5 separate regions of the Homo sapiens genome follow, and all the other regions are linked to region 1. Evidence: promoter capture Hi-C in 16 types of primary human blood cells and fetal thymus (Javierre and others, 2016). All regions are on one chromosome and are shown on one strand. Each heading gives the region's core, a stretch centred on a gene start or on the middle of the fragment in contact. The rest is flanking DNA. Distances are from core to core; before and after follow the strand shown.

Region 1 (2,700 bases), core at 98-2,597:
CTTACGCGAGCTCTCAAAGTACCTTAATTTACAAGCATCAGTCTTTCAAAATCATTTTTTCTCCAATGCTAAAAGCTCAGCACCTATCTCCCCTTCTCTGGTGGTCAGAATACTATTAATAACCAAATGAACACTTTCACCAACTTTTCTTTTCCCCTCCACTACAAAAGTCTATACCAAACCTATCTCTGATAAACCTCAAACCATGAGAGCATTTATTCGCCTATCTGACACCCACTTAGAGTTTAACTTGCCTTTGCATCCCCAGATTCCAACAGAGTGCCTTGCATGTGCTCATTCATTCAAAGACACTTACAGGACGGGAGCGGTGGCTCACACCTGTAATCCCAGCACTTTGGGAGGCCGAGGCAGGAGGATCGCTTGAAGTCAGGAGTTCGAGACTAGCGTGGCCAACATGGTGAAACCCAGTCTCTACTAAAAGTACAAAAGTTAGCCTGGCATGGTGGCGCACACCTGTAATCCCAGCTACTCGGGAGGCTGAGGCAGGAGAATCGCTTGAACCCGGGAAGCGGAAGTTGCAGTGAGCTGAGATCGCGCCACTGCACTCCAGCCCAACTCGCGCAACACCTTCTTAAATGCTGAAGGAAAACTCCATTCAAGAGAACGCAGGCAAAAGCCCAAAGTGATCATAATCCAGCGTCCAGCTTTAAGTCATCCGTGGCTCACCCAAACTCCCAACCCACTCCTCGCCGCCCCATCCCTCGCAAAAAGCTAAATTTCCAATATCTAAATGCTAGGTGGTTACTGATCACCAACGGTGACCGCACGTGGGACACCACCCAAGCTGGCCAAGTGTAAGGAAAAGACCACCACCCGACTTCCCAAAGCAGTCTTCAAAGCCCCCCTCATCTTCGTTGACCATGGGTACCCCGAGGGCAGTAAGGTCCAGGCTGAAGTGGCGGGGGCAGGATTCAAGCCGGAGGCAGGCCATGCCCACAGCCGTGACCTTCTGAAGGCGCTTAACCCTGTCACCCGAAAACCCCTGGTAGGGAGCGTGGTGCGGAGCCCGGGGAGGCTAGGTCCTGGGGCGGGGAGAAGGGTGGCGAGCACAGGCAGGACCCGGTCCCTGCCGGCACCCACGACCCCGGGGGACCCTGGCGCCGCAGCTTGCCTGGAGAAAGGGCCTGGGCACTCACCCGGCCACGGGCCCGGCGCGAGCGGCGGGCAGATAGGAGGCGGCATGCAGCCGGCCCGGGCCGCCAGGGAGGAGGCGCAGGGAGAGCGGGAGGCGCGGGGCCGCCCCGGCACGCAGCAACCAACGCGCGGATCTCAGCAGGGCTGCCATTGCTCGAACGTCCCCGCAGCGGGAAGCACGCTCCGCCAGAAGGACAGGAGGAGCATGTGACCGCAGGGTAGCCTGGCGCGGCAGAGACCAACTGCCGGGCGTGCCAAATGTGGGGGGAGCGACGGATTGTTTTAGGTTGGAAGATGGAAAACCGCACTTCTCCGAGGACAGAAGACCCAATGTAATATTTACATAAACGATGTTGCTTGATTCATTATCGAAGCTTTTCTTTTCCGTCTTCCGTCTCCGATCTGGGCATCGTGTTCATTCGCTGCACCCCTGCACTCCTCTGTTGGTAGAGCCGCAAGAGGTCAACTCCTCCCAGGTTGGCGCAGAGGCTTGTGGGAGGCCAACTAGTAAAAATACCGAGAACTCTCGAGGAGAGCCGACTATGAAGATCCCAGGACGTGGGAAGGTTTCCCCCGCCCCCGAGTGCAGATGTTGCTGCTAACGTTCAGCCCTGACGCCATGTCCAATAGGAACGGCCCTTCACTCTCAGAAACGCGGGCCGGAGAAACCGTGGAGGTCTTTTGCACCTTGCCGTTTGCCTCCCAGGTTCAACATGATAGGATGTGGATTATCAGGGCCTGGGAACAGTGTAAAGGAACGCGCAGGTCCCCACCCTAAGCGCGTACGCGGGGCCTCGCTTTAGAAAATAAATGAATTCTACCAAAAATCCTATAGTTTTAAAGCTGGAATTGAACTGACTCTCTTCCCCAACCCTCCACCCCTACCGCGCCTCTCCCTTCAGTAAATGCACATATACATGTGAGAAGTAAAAGAACAATGTAATTAAGAGTCTCCAGCCAAATATGGGGAGAAAACTGGCAAGTTAAACCCATCGCTGGCGAAGTGGCTCACGCCTGTAATCCCATCACTTTGGAAGGCCGAGGCGGGTGGATCACCTGAGGTCAGGAGTTGGAGACCAGCCTGGCCAACATGGTGAAACCCCATCTGTACTAAAAATACAAAAAATTAGCCGGGCGTGGTGGCGGGCGCCTGTAATCTCAGCTACTCGGGAGGCTGAGGCAGGAGAATTGCTTGAACCCGAGAGGTGGAGGTTGCAGTGAGCCAAGATGGCGCCATTGCACTCCAGCCTGGGTGACACAGCGAGACTCTGTCTAAAACAAAACAAAAAAACCACGTCGCTGCCTTCACAGGGCTTACAGACTGGATCGGTTCCCTGTGCACACGTGGGAAGCTGAGAACAGCCTTCCACTCCCTCTACACCTGCCTGTCCCCTACCTATCACGAGGCAAACGCGGCGGGTATTTCCTCTGGAAGCCCTCCCACGGTCATTTCCGAAGTGACTGTTTATCCCACTGGACTCCTTATCAGTTAATCCCACGAACTCCTTATCAGTAGGGACTGTGATCTCTTATTGTAGGCCATAC
Region 2 (2,700 bases), core at 26-2,525, 400 kb before region 1:
GTATCTCTGCCCCTTAATGTTCATTCCACATCTTTGCAAGACTGACTCCTTCTCACCATTCATGTTTCTGCTGCAACATTACCTTCTAAAAGCCTTCCATGACCACTCTATCTAAAATCTCACCAATACAACACACGTAGACACCATTTCCGTTAATTTTCTTCATAGCACTTACTAGTACCAGAAATTACCCTAACTTGTAAATTTGTATATTGTCTGTCTCACCTAGTAGCAAACTGAATGAAGGCAGCAACTTTAATCTATTTTGTTCATGTTTCAAGTCTCAATTTCCAAACCAGTGCCTGGCACATAGTAGGTGTTTAACAAACACTTCACGAATAAACAAATTAATTAACAAACATTTGTCAGAGATGTTCTAGAAGGGATATATGTCTTTAAGGGCAGGAAGGTGGACTATCTGGTACCTAAAATGCATTCTACATCTAAGTGACATTCTACATCTTAAGAACCTATGGTCTGTTTGGGAAGTAAGAAATCCATACAGTAATGGCAGGTGAGCAACCACTTAACCAAAAATGGACGCAGCTAGGAAAGTGTCGACAACAGAATAATTTGTAAAGGGATAGTCAGATCTAGAGGAATAGAGGCACGCTTCCTAAGAAAGTGACCATCGTACAAAGCCAGAAGAGACTGGGAAACCTAACTAGGGAGACTATTCTCTGGTGAAAGGTAAGCAAGTTTGCAGGAGGATTTGCTCTTGCAATTCTGAGGGCTACACAAAAGCAGACTCGGTAATTATGCCTGCTCAAATGATGCCTAAACGTGTGTCCTGAAGAACCAGGGTCCCCAAGGGGGTAAATCCCGTGTCTACCGCAAGGCCAGAAGGTGCCCAGTAAATTACACTCCTCCTAGGTCCCACTTACTGCTTCCCTTTAGAACGCTGCTTCACTCTACACCTTCCTGGCTGACTCCCACAAACATTCTCTGGGCGATTTCTGAACCACGTGGAGTCGAGGAATGACAGTGGGAGAAAGTGGTTAAAGTGCTGTCTCCATGGAGACCTTAGCGACCGGAAATCAGTTTCACAGCCGCCGAATCCTGGCGATACCAAAGGATGGGAATTGGTGTGGCTCGCCAGGCAGCCCTAGCAAAACTGGCCGAGCCGAGCTACCGCGGGTCTGGCAGGCAGGACACCTGGGAGCCAAACCTCGTGCACGTCGGCGTCTGAGAAGAGTCGCAGGCGCCTGGTCCAGTCCCGGAAGCAGGTCTCCTTCTACGGCGTCTCCGAGGCTCGCAGCGCGGTCCACGGTCGACTACCGGGTCAGGGCAAAGGGAGGGAGAGAGGGGTAACCTGGAGGAGTCATCGCGAGAATTGACCAAACGCAGCTCCTCCAATCAGGAGTTCGAGGAGGTCGTGACGTCACCGGGGTGGCCGGTAGCAATCCGGTTTAGTTAACCAGCCACTGTACCGTCAGCGCCGCGCGTTCCTCATGGCGTTAGGGCTGACGGGCCTTGTTGCTGAGGGGCCTTCATTCAACGGTCTCTTGTTGAATGAAAAGACCTCATTCTCTTCACATGCTTGGACGCCTGGGAAGCGCTTTTCTCCCAATCCAGACCTTCCACCTTTCTCCCACTCTGTTGGCCCAGTGCAGAGTCTAGGAGAAAACTACGTCTGGGACTCGGGAACGAGTCCAGGGAGTTTAGAGCCTGCGAGATGGGGCAGGGGTTTGGGCGGCGACTGAACGGAAGCCACGAGAAGGATTCGGACTAAAATGAGTAGTGCTGAACCAACGTGTGCCAAAGCGCATATATTCATTCAATAGATAATGAACTCTACTGTCAGAGCGTCGCCAAGCGCTAGCCTTGAAAGCTATCCCCTACTGAGGATACATGTATTACGCAGCACATACAAATTGTCAGATGGTTCAGTCCTTGAAAAATAAATACAATAACGGGGTGTCACTGGGAGCTGCGACAGTGGGCAAGATCAGGAAAGACCTGATGCTATTATCAGGAGTATTAATTTGGAAAATAGAGACATTTCAGTTCTCTAAACGTTAATGACTTAAGTTTTTAATAATTATTTTCTGAATTTTTTATATCAGCTTGCCTTGGTTTTCTTTATAGCTTTACCACATAATGTATGTATCACTATCTTGTTTCGTTCAATTTTGAAGCTTTTGGAATTGCGTATGTATTCTCCAGCAATTTGCTTCTTTCAGCATTGCTTTTCATATTCACCTACAGGTGGCTGTAGTGCTCTTCGCCCAGGCTGGAGTGCAGTGGCGCGATCTCGGCTCACTGCAAACTCTGCCTCCCGGGTTCAAGTGATTCTCCTGCCTCAGCCTCCTAAGTAACCGGGATTACAGGCGCGCGCCACCACGCTCAGCTAATTTTTGTATTTTTTAGTGGAGACGGGGTTTCACCATGTTGCTCATGCTGGTCTTGAACTCCTGACCTCGTGATTCGCCCGCCTCGGTCTCCAAAAGTGCTGGGATTACAGGCGTGAGCCATGGCGCCCGGACCGTAATTTTCCATTGTTTAATATACTTCATTATGTATCCATCCTGCTGCCTCTTAACATGTGCATTATTTCCAGTTTTTGTTCTAAACATTGCTGCTGTGAACTATGTTGTGCATGTCAGCTGGTGAGTGTGTGCAGACGGTTCTCCACCATAATTTTTTCTGGTATTTTTGACCCTGACATAGTAAGAAATACATTGCAGACTTTGAAACTGT
Region 3 (2,700 bases), core at 170-2,669, 350 kb after region 1:
TTTTCACAAAGGTTTTCCTTTTAGATTTTTTTGGGACACATTATTATTTGAATTAGATTAAAATTAGCAATAATGGTTGTTATGATAGTCTCAATCATTTAGCCTCTACTTACTATCATATAATTTTCTGAATTTTTTTTAAGAGACAGGGTCTCACTATGTTGCCCAGGCTGGACTCAAACTCCTGGGCTCAAGCAATCTTCCTGCCTCAGCCTCCCAAGTAGATGGGACTATAGATAGGTGTGTGCCTCCTCATTCCATACAGTTAATTTTTTGAGTAATTATTTGAAGATCAAATACTGGAGGCTTATATATTTATTTTTCATTCATTTTTAAAGCATTTCTACAAAATCTACAGTTGATCTTTAAAGTGGTGAGACATGATATCTGTATCAATAATCCCCTCATATCACCATCATAAGTCAGAAGATGACTAAAAATCTATTCTGAAACTGTAAAATAGCAATAGGAGCTGCCTTTGCATTTCTAGATTCAGGATTGTCTGTTCTGTAATTTCCATTAAAACTTTTGAAGTAGAGTCAGGATTATCTCTCTACTACCCTGTAGCTTCTAGCACATTCTAGGTCATGGAGCTGGGTTCTGTCACTTTTAAATACTCATTCTTACTGAGAGTCATAGCCAACACAGAGCCAAAAGCAACAGAGCGGGCTCCAAAACTCATCTTCTTAACTTTACATTCCTTCCTGATTAACATTTTTTCTGTCATATATCCAAATAAACTGAGCTTATCTGAACCAAAATAACTCTGAAAGCAATAGGATTTTTGACTCCCTTAACGAAATTCAAGCAGAACTCAACAGCTTTCTAAGTAACTCTTCTAAAGGAATTACTCCCATGGAAACTGAGGTTTTATATAATATTCATTAAGTACTCCAGGTTACTTTTGGTTTTTGTTGCGTCCCAGGGATACCTGCTCAGTGTTTTAAGCTTTCATTTCAATTTCAGCTAGCAATATCATTAGCGTACACAGCTAAAGCCATCCATTTTAGCCAGGTATCTTAGTCCAGTTGTTTCAAAGGCATATACTACCCAATGGAGCTGAGGTAAGGATGGCTTTACCTTCAGATTTTGAGAAGGTTACTGGTACAGTATCACTCCATTAGTGGTAAAAAGAAGCACTCCTTCCCACTCCCCAAGTGACCCACCACTAAATCATTTTAACAATGAAAGCTGTTATAAAATAGAAGGAGAATGATATGTGTTAACTTTATCATGGCAAAGATGCTGAACTCTAAAGATAGAAAAAATGGTGAAGTAGAAAGACACCGGACAGCCCTTCAGTCAAGACTAATTAGCCATTAGTAAATGGCTAATTCTAAGGCTAGAGCAGGGAGAAAATACATGGTAGGTTTGGGAAATCTTATGCCAGAAAATAAGGAAGTGCTCAAAGTTTAATGGAGACATGTCAAAAGAATACAAGTGTCAACTGAAGGGGTTTCTACAGGCCACATTTTGGACAACTGGAGCCTCAAAAAGAATAATAAATAATAAATAATACATTGAAAAAACATAAATCCACAGCAATTGAAAAACAGAATGCAATATGAAGCATTTCAATTTAGGAAAACAGAAAAAGAGTAAGTCTTAAGGAAGTAGAAGAAAGGTAAGAAAATTAATTTTTGAAATTAAATTGATAACAAAGAAACTAAAGAGAATCAAATTAAAAGTTGGTTCTTTTAGAAACCTATTAAAAAACAAACATCACAAAACTGATAGAAAAAAGAATACGAGGCCGGGCGCGGTGGCTCACGCCTGTAATCTCGGCACTTCGGGAGGCCAAGGCGGGTGGATCACGAGGTCAAGAAAAAAGAATACGAGGAGAGAAAAAGGCATAATTACAGATACAACAGAGATTTTTAAAAATTACAATAAGCTTTATGTGAATCTATTTGAAAATAAATGAAATGGGTAATTTTCCAGGAAGAAAAATTACCAAAATTGACCCAAGAAATAGAAAAGCTATATAAGTCACTAACTCTTAAAGAAATTAAATTGCTAACTAAATGTCCCCTTCTTGAAAGAAACACCAAGCCCAGATGCTTTCAAATGTAGCTTTCTTGGATCTTCAAGAAACAGCTAATCTTTTCATACGTCAACTATTTAAAAAAATAGTAAAAGAGGTAAAACTACTCATTTTATTAGGCTAATATAACCTTGACATCAAAATTAGACAATGATGATATGAGACAATTAAAAAAATCAATCTTATTCTAAAATAAAACTTGATAAAATCAAATTTTTAATTTTAAAAAGCACAAAATAAGAACAGTAATAGTAATACCAATTAAACTTAATGTGACCAAGAAGGATTTTTTCCTAAGAATGAAAGGATGGTCCAACATCAGAAAAAAATCTATCAATGTAATCTAACACAAATAAAGGAGATAAATCTTAGAGCCATTTTTGATAAATGCAGGGAAAAAATAAAAAATAATCACACTTTAAAAAAATGATAAAACCTTAAATTAGGAATAGAGAGGAACTTCCTTAATAGTTTCTGTCAGTTATCTTACACAGAAATATACTAAATCTGTAATCAAAATACCTGAAATTAATTCATATTAGCATATACATGGTATTTAGCAACCATGAAACACCAATGAGATTTCCAAAATTTTAATAATGTTCATGTAAAACAACTAATTGTATTTGCTGTTAACTCATTTTATTTTTTAAAAG
Region 4 (2,700 bases), core at 102-2,601, 400 kb after region 1:
TCAGAAAGAACACTGGACACTGAAGTACTGTCCCTTTTATTTTTGTTTCCATTTTGACCTCAGTTAATTCAGTAGTGGGGCTGTTTCTTCCTTCTTTGCTTTGTTTCGGGTGCTTTCTTTGCCATTCCCTGCTTCTTTACTTTCACTGTAGAATAAACCCAGAACATATTTTTCTTGATGCTACTATACATTAATACCAGAGTGTTTTTGTTTGATGCAGTATTACAATATTACAGAATATATTGCCTTTTCATCAAAGCTTCTGATTAATTGGTGATAGATTTGTCCACTGAGAAAATCACTTAAATATTTCTTATAATTCTTGTAATTAATTTCATGTGATGAAAGACATCAGCCAAGAATACCTTTATGTCACTGAGTTAAACAGCATACCATCATAGGAGCTATGGACTTTTTATGTTTTTTGTATAGGACATTTCTCTTAAGATAGTGAATTGTCAATGAAATATGAGCATTTTAAATGTAAAAATAGTACTCATACTCTTTTTCTCAAAGAAAATTTCAGAACTGTTAACTTTTGGCTGAATTTAGGTAGTGTCTTTGGCTTAACAATGCAGTTTTATCAAATAAATAGATTTGCATAGAATTGTGTTCAGTAATACTCAGACAACACTTTTGTTCTTATGTCCACATTATGATAAGCTTTTGATTTTATAGAAAAATATTTGTGGTTCACTAAGGAATCTATAAATGTCCTTAAATTATCCTAAATACCTAAAATAATGTAGGTTTCTTTTTTATGGATAGTGACTGATGTGCCTTTTAGTTTCTTTCTTTTTTTTTAAATTTTCCAAACACCAACTTGAACCCGAATGCCTTTTAGTTTTTCCATGTTGGCATTTAGTGAATTCTCTCCCACTTAGGTGTATCTCATATTTTTATTAGGTCTAGGCAAGGACTGGGCAAAGCATACCAATGATGGTTGAGGATACATACTCTTTTAGTTCTGGGGTAATGTTAAATATCATTGAGTCAGGCTTAAACATATGTAATTTCAGAAAATGATTCTAGAATGTTAAATGTGGAATTTTTGATTCAGTAATGTAAAAGTCAAGTATTGTTCCCAGTTGGCTCCGTATGAAATAGGGCCACTAGCTGACAGCATTATGTAAAATAAAAATAATTTCCTAAAGGCATCAATTATTATTTTAGGCATGAATGACTGTCTTAGCCTTCTCTAACATTTTTTCCCATCAACTTGTTCCATACCCCGTGTTGTTGTTGCATGAACAAACGGAAATATTGCATATTCAGGGTGTTTTTTCACTGTTGTCTCTTGTTTGGTAGAAAGGTTTAAGACTTTGGAATGATACTCACCTGCATTTGACTTCTGGCTCTGAAATTCATCTTGAGCAATTTGTATCATCTCTATGAACCTCAACTGTTTTCATCTCTTAGGGCTGGCTGTGTTATAAAGAAAGTACGTACATACTGCATGGCTGAGAGTTGATATGCAATAAAAGTTATTAATTATTACTGGCGATGAGTACCTATATAACCTCTTTTGGTTTTTTCCTAATAAAGAAGATAATATTATTAGGATTATTCTGTCTTATACTATTTTAATTGAACTAACAGGGCAGAAAAATTAGATAAAATTAGCAAAATAGCTGTTTATTAAAATGCCTCATTATAAATGTTGCCTTAAAAACCTGGATATATTGCTGAGTGATAGAAGTGGTGACAAAAATAAGACCTCTTAAAATATGTTGTTTTGTGTACCTTTTATGTTTACTTTTTATTTTAACAGAAAAATCTATATAGATGTTTCATTTAATGATAAATTGGTAAAGTCCTGTTCCAATAAAGTAAATATTGATTATGACTTTTATATAATCTTGGACGTAAAGTAACCATGGACTGAAAAAGTGATTTTTCACTTGATGCCTCAAAAATTTGATTTTATTATGCCAATAGTGATATTGAGTTTGTGACTAGAAAACCCAGCAGAGGGCGCCACAATCATAATTCTTTGTCATAGCCCAATATAATTAGGATAAATAGCTCAAATAATAACCCTAAGCTTTTACCATGTAGACATATAAAGATGTGTCTAAACATTTCTATTTGATTCATTTATAATATATTTAATATATTCAGTAATTCAAAAATACAAAAAAATAGATTTTTCCTGGCCGATTTTTTAATTTTTAAAAATATCAGTTTAATTTTTCTACTTCTAGCTTTAAATAAAGAAGTACTTTTGATAGAGAGTGAAAGTTCCATACAAGAGTATCAGTTCATAAATCACCACCATGGTAGTATGTTAAAGGACAATTAGAATGAGGAAAAAAGTTTCTAATAGATGAGAGAACCAAGAGATGGAATTATCTATTTATTTTAAGAATTTGTTTCTAGGTTAATAATGCTTCCTAGTAATAGAAAAAACAGCTTAACTAAAACATTTTCTAGTCACAAAAACCTGATATGTGTAGATACAGTAAAAAAAGGTATGGTCATGGTTTAGTAGAACCATTAATTTCAATTGTAAGTTCATTTTGAATATCAGGGGATGATTATATTCATTGCAAATTTTCAGAGATGAAAGGATCAGTCTTACCTTCTGAATTGGTTTATGCTCTAAGTGAAAAGACGTGGAAAAATCTCTTTAATTTTGGAAAATAAACCTCTAGATAACTTATTTACTATTAGAAAAGATAATTTTTTTGTATTTACTTT
Region 5 (2,700 bases), core at 150-2,649, 330 kb after region 1:
GCAATAAATGCTACTGTCTCATACCAATTAGGACAGTTAGTTATTATATTAAAACAACAACAACAACAACAAGTATTGGCAGTAATGTGGAGAAACCGGAATCCTGATACACTGGTGGTTGGAATGTAAAATGGGGGAGCTGCTTTGGAAAACAGTATGGTGGTTCATCAAAGAGTTAAGCTTAAGATTACCATATGATCCAGCAATTCCACTCCTGGCATATAATCCCCAAAACTGAAAGCAGGGTCTTAAAGAGATCTGCATACCTATGTTCACAGCAGCATATTCACAACAGCCAAAAGGTGGAAGCAACTCAAGTGTCCATTAACCAAAGAACGAATAAGCAAAATGTGGTATACACATGCAATATTACATGGAATATTATTCAGCCTTAAAAATGAATAAAATTCTGATCCACGCTACAATATGGATGAACCTCAAGGATATAATCTAAGTGAAATAAGCCAGTCACAAAAAATTTTGTATGACTCCACCTATGTGAGGTGTTTGAGTAGTCAAATTCACAGAGACAGAGGCTGTGGGAAGAAGCAAATGGAGAGCTGTTTAATCGGTACAGGGTTTCAGTTTTGTTAAGATGAAAAACGAGTTCTGGAGATTGACTGCATAAGCCTATGAGTGCACTTACCACTACTGAACTATTCACTTAAAAATGGTTGAGATGGTAAATTTTATGGTATTTTACCATAATTAAAAATTTTTAAATGAAAAAAATACACAAGGAATAAAGTCTTTTTGACCAGTTGGACATTTTATATTAAAAGCAAAAAACGCTAAGTAAAGAAACTCTGCAAAATACCCAAGGTGAAAGAAGAGAAAACAACCCATTGGCTTATAATTAGTGTTACAAAATTTAATAAAACGAAGGCTGGGTCGCACATGGTGGCTCATGCCTGTAATCCCAGCACATTGGGAGGCTGAGGTGGGCAAATCACTTGAGCCCAGGAGTTTGAAACTAGCCTGGGTAGCATGGTAAAACCACATCTCTACAAAACAACAACAAACCACAAAAATTAGCAGGGCATGGTGGCACATGCCTGTAGTCCCAGATACTCAGGAGGCTGAGGTGGGAGGATCACCTGAGCCCCAGAGGTCGAGGCTGTAGTGAGCTGTGTTCGTGTGCCATTGCATTCCAGCCTGGGTGAAAGAGCAAAACTCTGACTCAAAAAACAAAACAAAACAAAACAAAAAAACAAAAACCCCACAAAAACAACAAAACAAAAATGAAGGCTGTATTTTTCACTTAGCTTTATTTTCTTCTGTTAACATACTTTTTAGCTTTCCCTCATATTAACATTAACCAAGTATAGTGAGTCATCTGTAATTCTTTTTGGCTGCCTACCATATGAACTTTTTTGCATTTGAAAAACCTCCAACCTTATCAGCTAGAGCCTGCCTCTCACTGTGGAGATACTAAGTGCTAGACTTCTCTTTCCCATTTTTCCCTGCAGCTTGGGAGTAGCTGTGTGACCCATGTGTGACTTGGGTCTATCAACCAGACACATGTGCTTTACACTCTGCATGGAAAGTTAGTGATTCAAAGAAGCAGTGATCACAGATAATTTATTCTGGCAAAAGTGCCACAGCTATATCCAGCTCTAGAAGTTGCACTGGCAGTGTGAGGTGATTTGTGCTTGGCAGTGGCGGCAGTAATAGTTTCATTGGGCCAATTCTATGCCTTTGGCTCTGAAGCCTCTAACACTGGTCTGAAGACACCTACATTTTCCTAATGCCCTTTAATCCCTTTTCTGCTTAAATTAGGGTTGATTTTTGGTGCTTATAAGAAGAATTTGACTTATACATGTATAAAAGGTTGTCTCCTAGTCTTCACTATAATAAGCAACCTAGCATAAATATCCTTCTCATCATTTCCTTTTAAATTTCTAAAAGTCAAAATCTAGTTGCTTTGTCTTTAAACTGTAAATAATTCTGCCATTATCTTTGTGCATAGGCTATTCTCCACATTTTTCTGTTTTTAAAAAATAGACTTACAGGTGACTACTATTTAACACTTATTTACAAGCCCACAGTATAAACTCCCCAACCTCAAAATAAAAAATCCTGAAAATAATTTACTCTCTCCCATCTCAGTCATTATTTTTCAGAGTAACCTAGAAGTAGGAGAATGATAGCAGTGAAACCAACTGCTACAATGTAACTTCGTAATTTCTGACACTGGGAAAAGATAATCATTTTCAGAACAGGGTAAGATATTTCAATTAAAATACGGAAAAACTATGCCCAAACGACCATTAAGAATGGACTATCTAAAAATAAAGAGCCTATAAATCTAGGACTGAAATGTTGATGGGCAGTAGCCTGTCAAGGTGACCAGGAGCCAAAGGACTCAGTGCATTCCAGAGTCACAGCGTGCTTTGCCTGGCTTTCTCAACTGGGACTCATATATGCTTCAGTGCTTTTTCACCAATTCTAAATGTCCTTACAAATACAAATGAGCAATGGAAATAGCCATTAATATCTTTCAGTGGAAAGCCTTAAAGATAATAAAGAACACTGTATCAGAGAAGAATAACGGTTAATAGTTGGATTAAAATAACTTTAGAAGTTCTCCTCAAGCTATAATTCTGAGTTTAAAACTTAAAAGCTTTGTTATACTCCTATGCTATGGTAAAACTGTAACAGAAATGTTTTTCTTTCCTTTTTTTTTTTTTTTTTTGACAA

The links. Contacts are between HindIII fragments. The CHiCAGO score rates a contact against its expected background, and 5 or more counts as called.
Region 2: the fragment with the promoter of THADA here is called in contact with the fragment with the promoter of LRPPRC in region 1 in 14 of 17 cell types (megakaryocytes, naive CD4 T cells, naive CD8 T cells and 11 more); the score reaches 10.6 in megakaryocytes.
Region 3: a contact is called between a fragment that was not itself captured here and the fragment with the promoter of LRPPRC in region 1, in 12 of 17 cell types (activated CD4 T cells, total CD8 T cells, naive CD4 T cells and 9 more). The highest score is 11.5, in activated CD4 T cells.
Region 4: a contact is called between a fragment that was not itself captured here and the fragment with the promoter of LRPPRC in region 1, in 5 of 17 cell types (total CD8 T cells, naive CD4 T cells, fetal thymus and 2 more). The highest score is 8.3, in total CD8 T cells.
Region 5: a fragment that was not itself captured here is called in contact with the fragment with the promoter of LRPPRC in region 1 in 1 of 17 cell types (non-activated CD4 T cells); the score reaches 5.1 in non-activated CD4 T cells.

What each region holds. Positions count from the first base shown.
Region 1 is chr2:43,994,642-43,997,341 of GRCh38, forward strand. It overlaps LRPPRC (leucine rich pentatricopeptide repeat containing), which reads right to left and starts at 1,348. Exons shown (of 38, transcript NM_133259.4): 1 at 1,158-1,348. The coding sequence starts at 1,306. RefSeq lists enhancers at 899-1,550, 1,346-1,625 and a silencer at 926-1,245. The HindIII fragment of the contact is 4,663 bases long and covers 1-1,527 here.
Region 2 is chr2:43,594,763-43,597,462 of GRCh38, forward strand. THADA (THADA armadillo repeat containing) reads right to left here and starts at 1,276. Exons shown (of 38, transcript NM_022065.5): 1 at 1,169-1,276. The HindIII fragment of the contact is 4,194 bases long and covers 1-2,136 here.
Region 3 is chr2:44,347,932-44,350,631 of GRCh38, forward strand. The region is part of intron 1 of PREPL (prolyl endopeptidase like); the gene reads right to left. Among named protein-coding and RNA genes, the nearest start is that of PREPL, 12 kb to the right of the region's middle. The HindIII fragment of the contact is 946 bases long and covers 947-1,892 here.
Region 4 is chr2:44,390,577-44,393,276 of GRCh38, forward strand. The region is part of intron 3 of CAMKMT (calmodulin-lysine N-methyltransferase); the gene reads left to right. It overlaps LOC124905998 (a long non-coding RNA gene), which reads left to right. Exons shown (of 3, transcript XR_007086301.1): 1 at 1-2,700. Among named protein-coding and RNA genes, the nearest start is that of CAMKMT, 30 kb to the left of the region's middle. The HindIII fragment of the contact is 1,381 bases long and covers 662-2,042 here.
Region 5 is chr2:44,323,707-44,326,406 of GRCh38, forward strand. All of the region lies in intron 10 of PREPL (prolyl endopeptidase like), which reads right to left. Among named protein-coding and RNA genes, the nearest start is that of PREPL, 36 kb to the right of the region's middle. The HindIII fragment of the contact is 2,443 bases long and covers 179-2,621 here.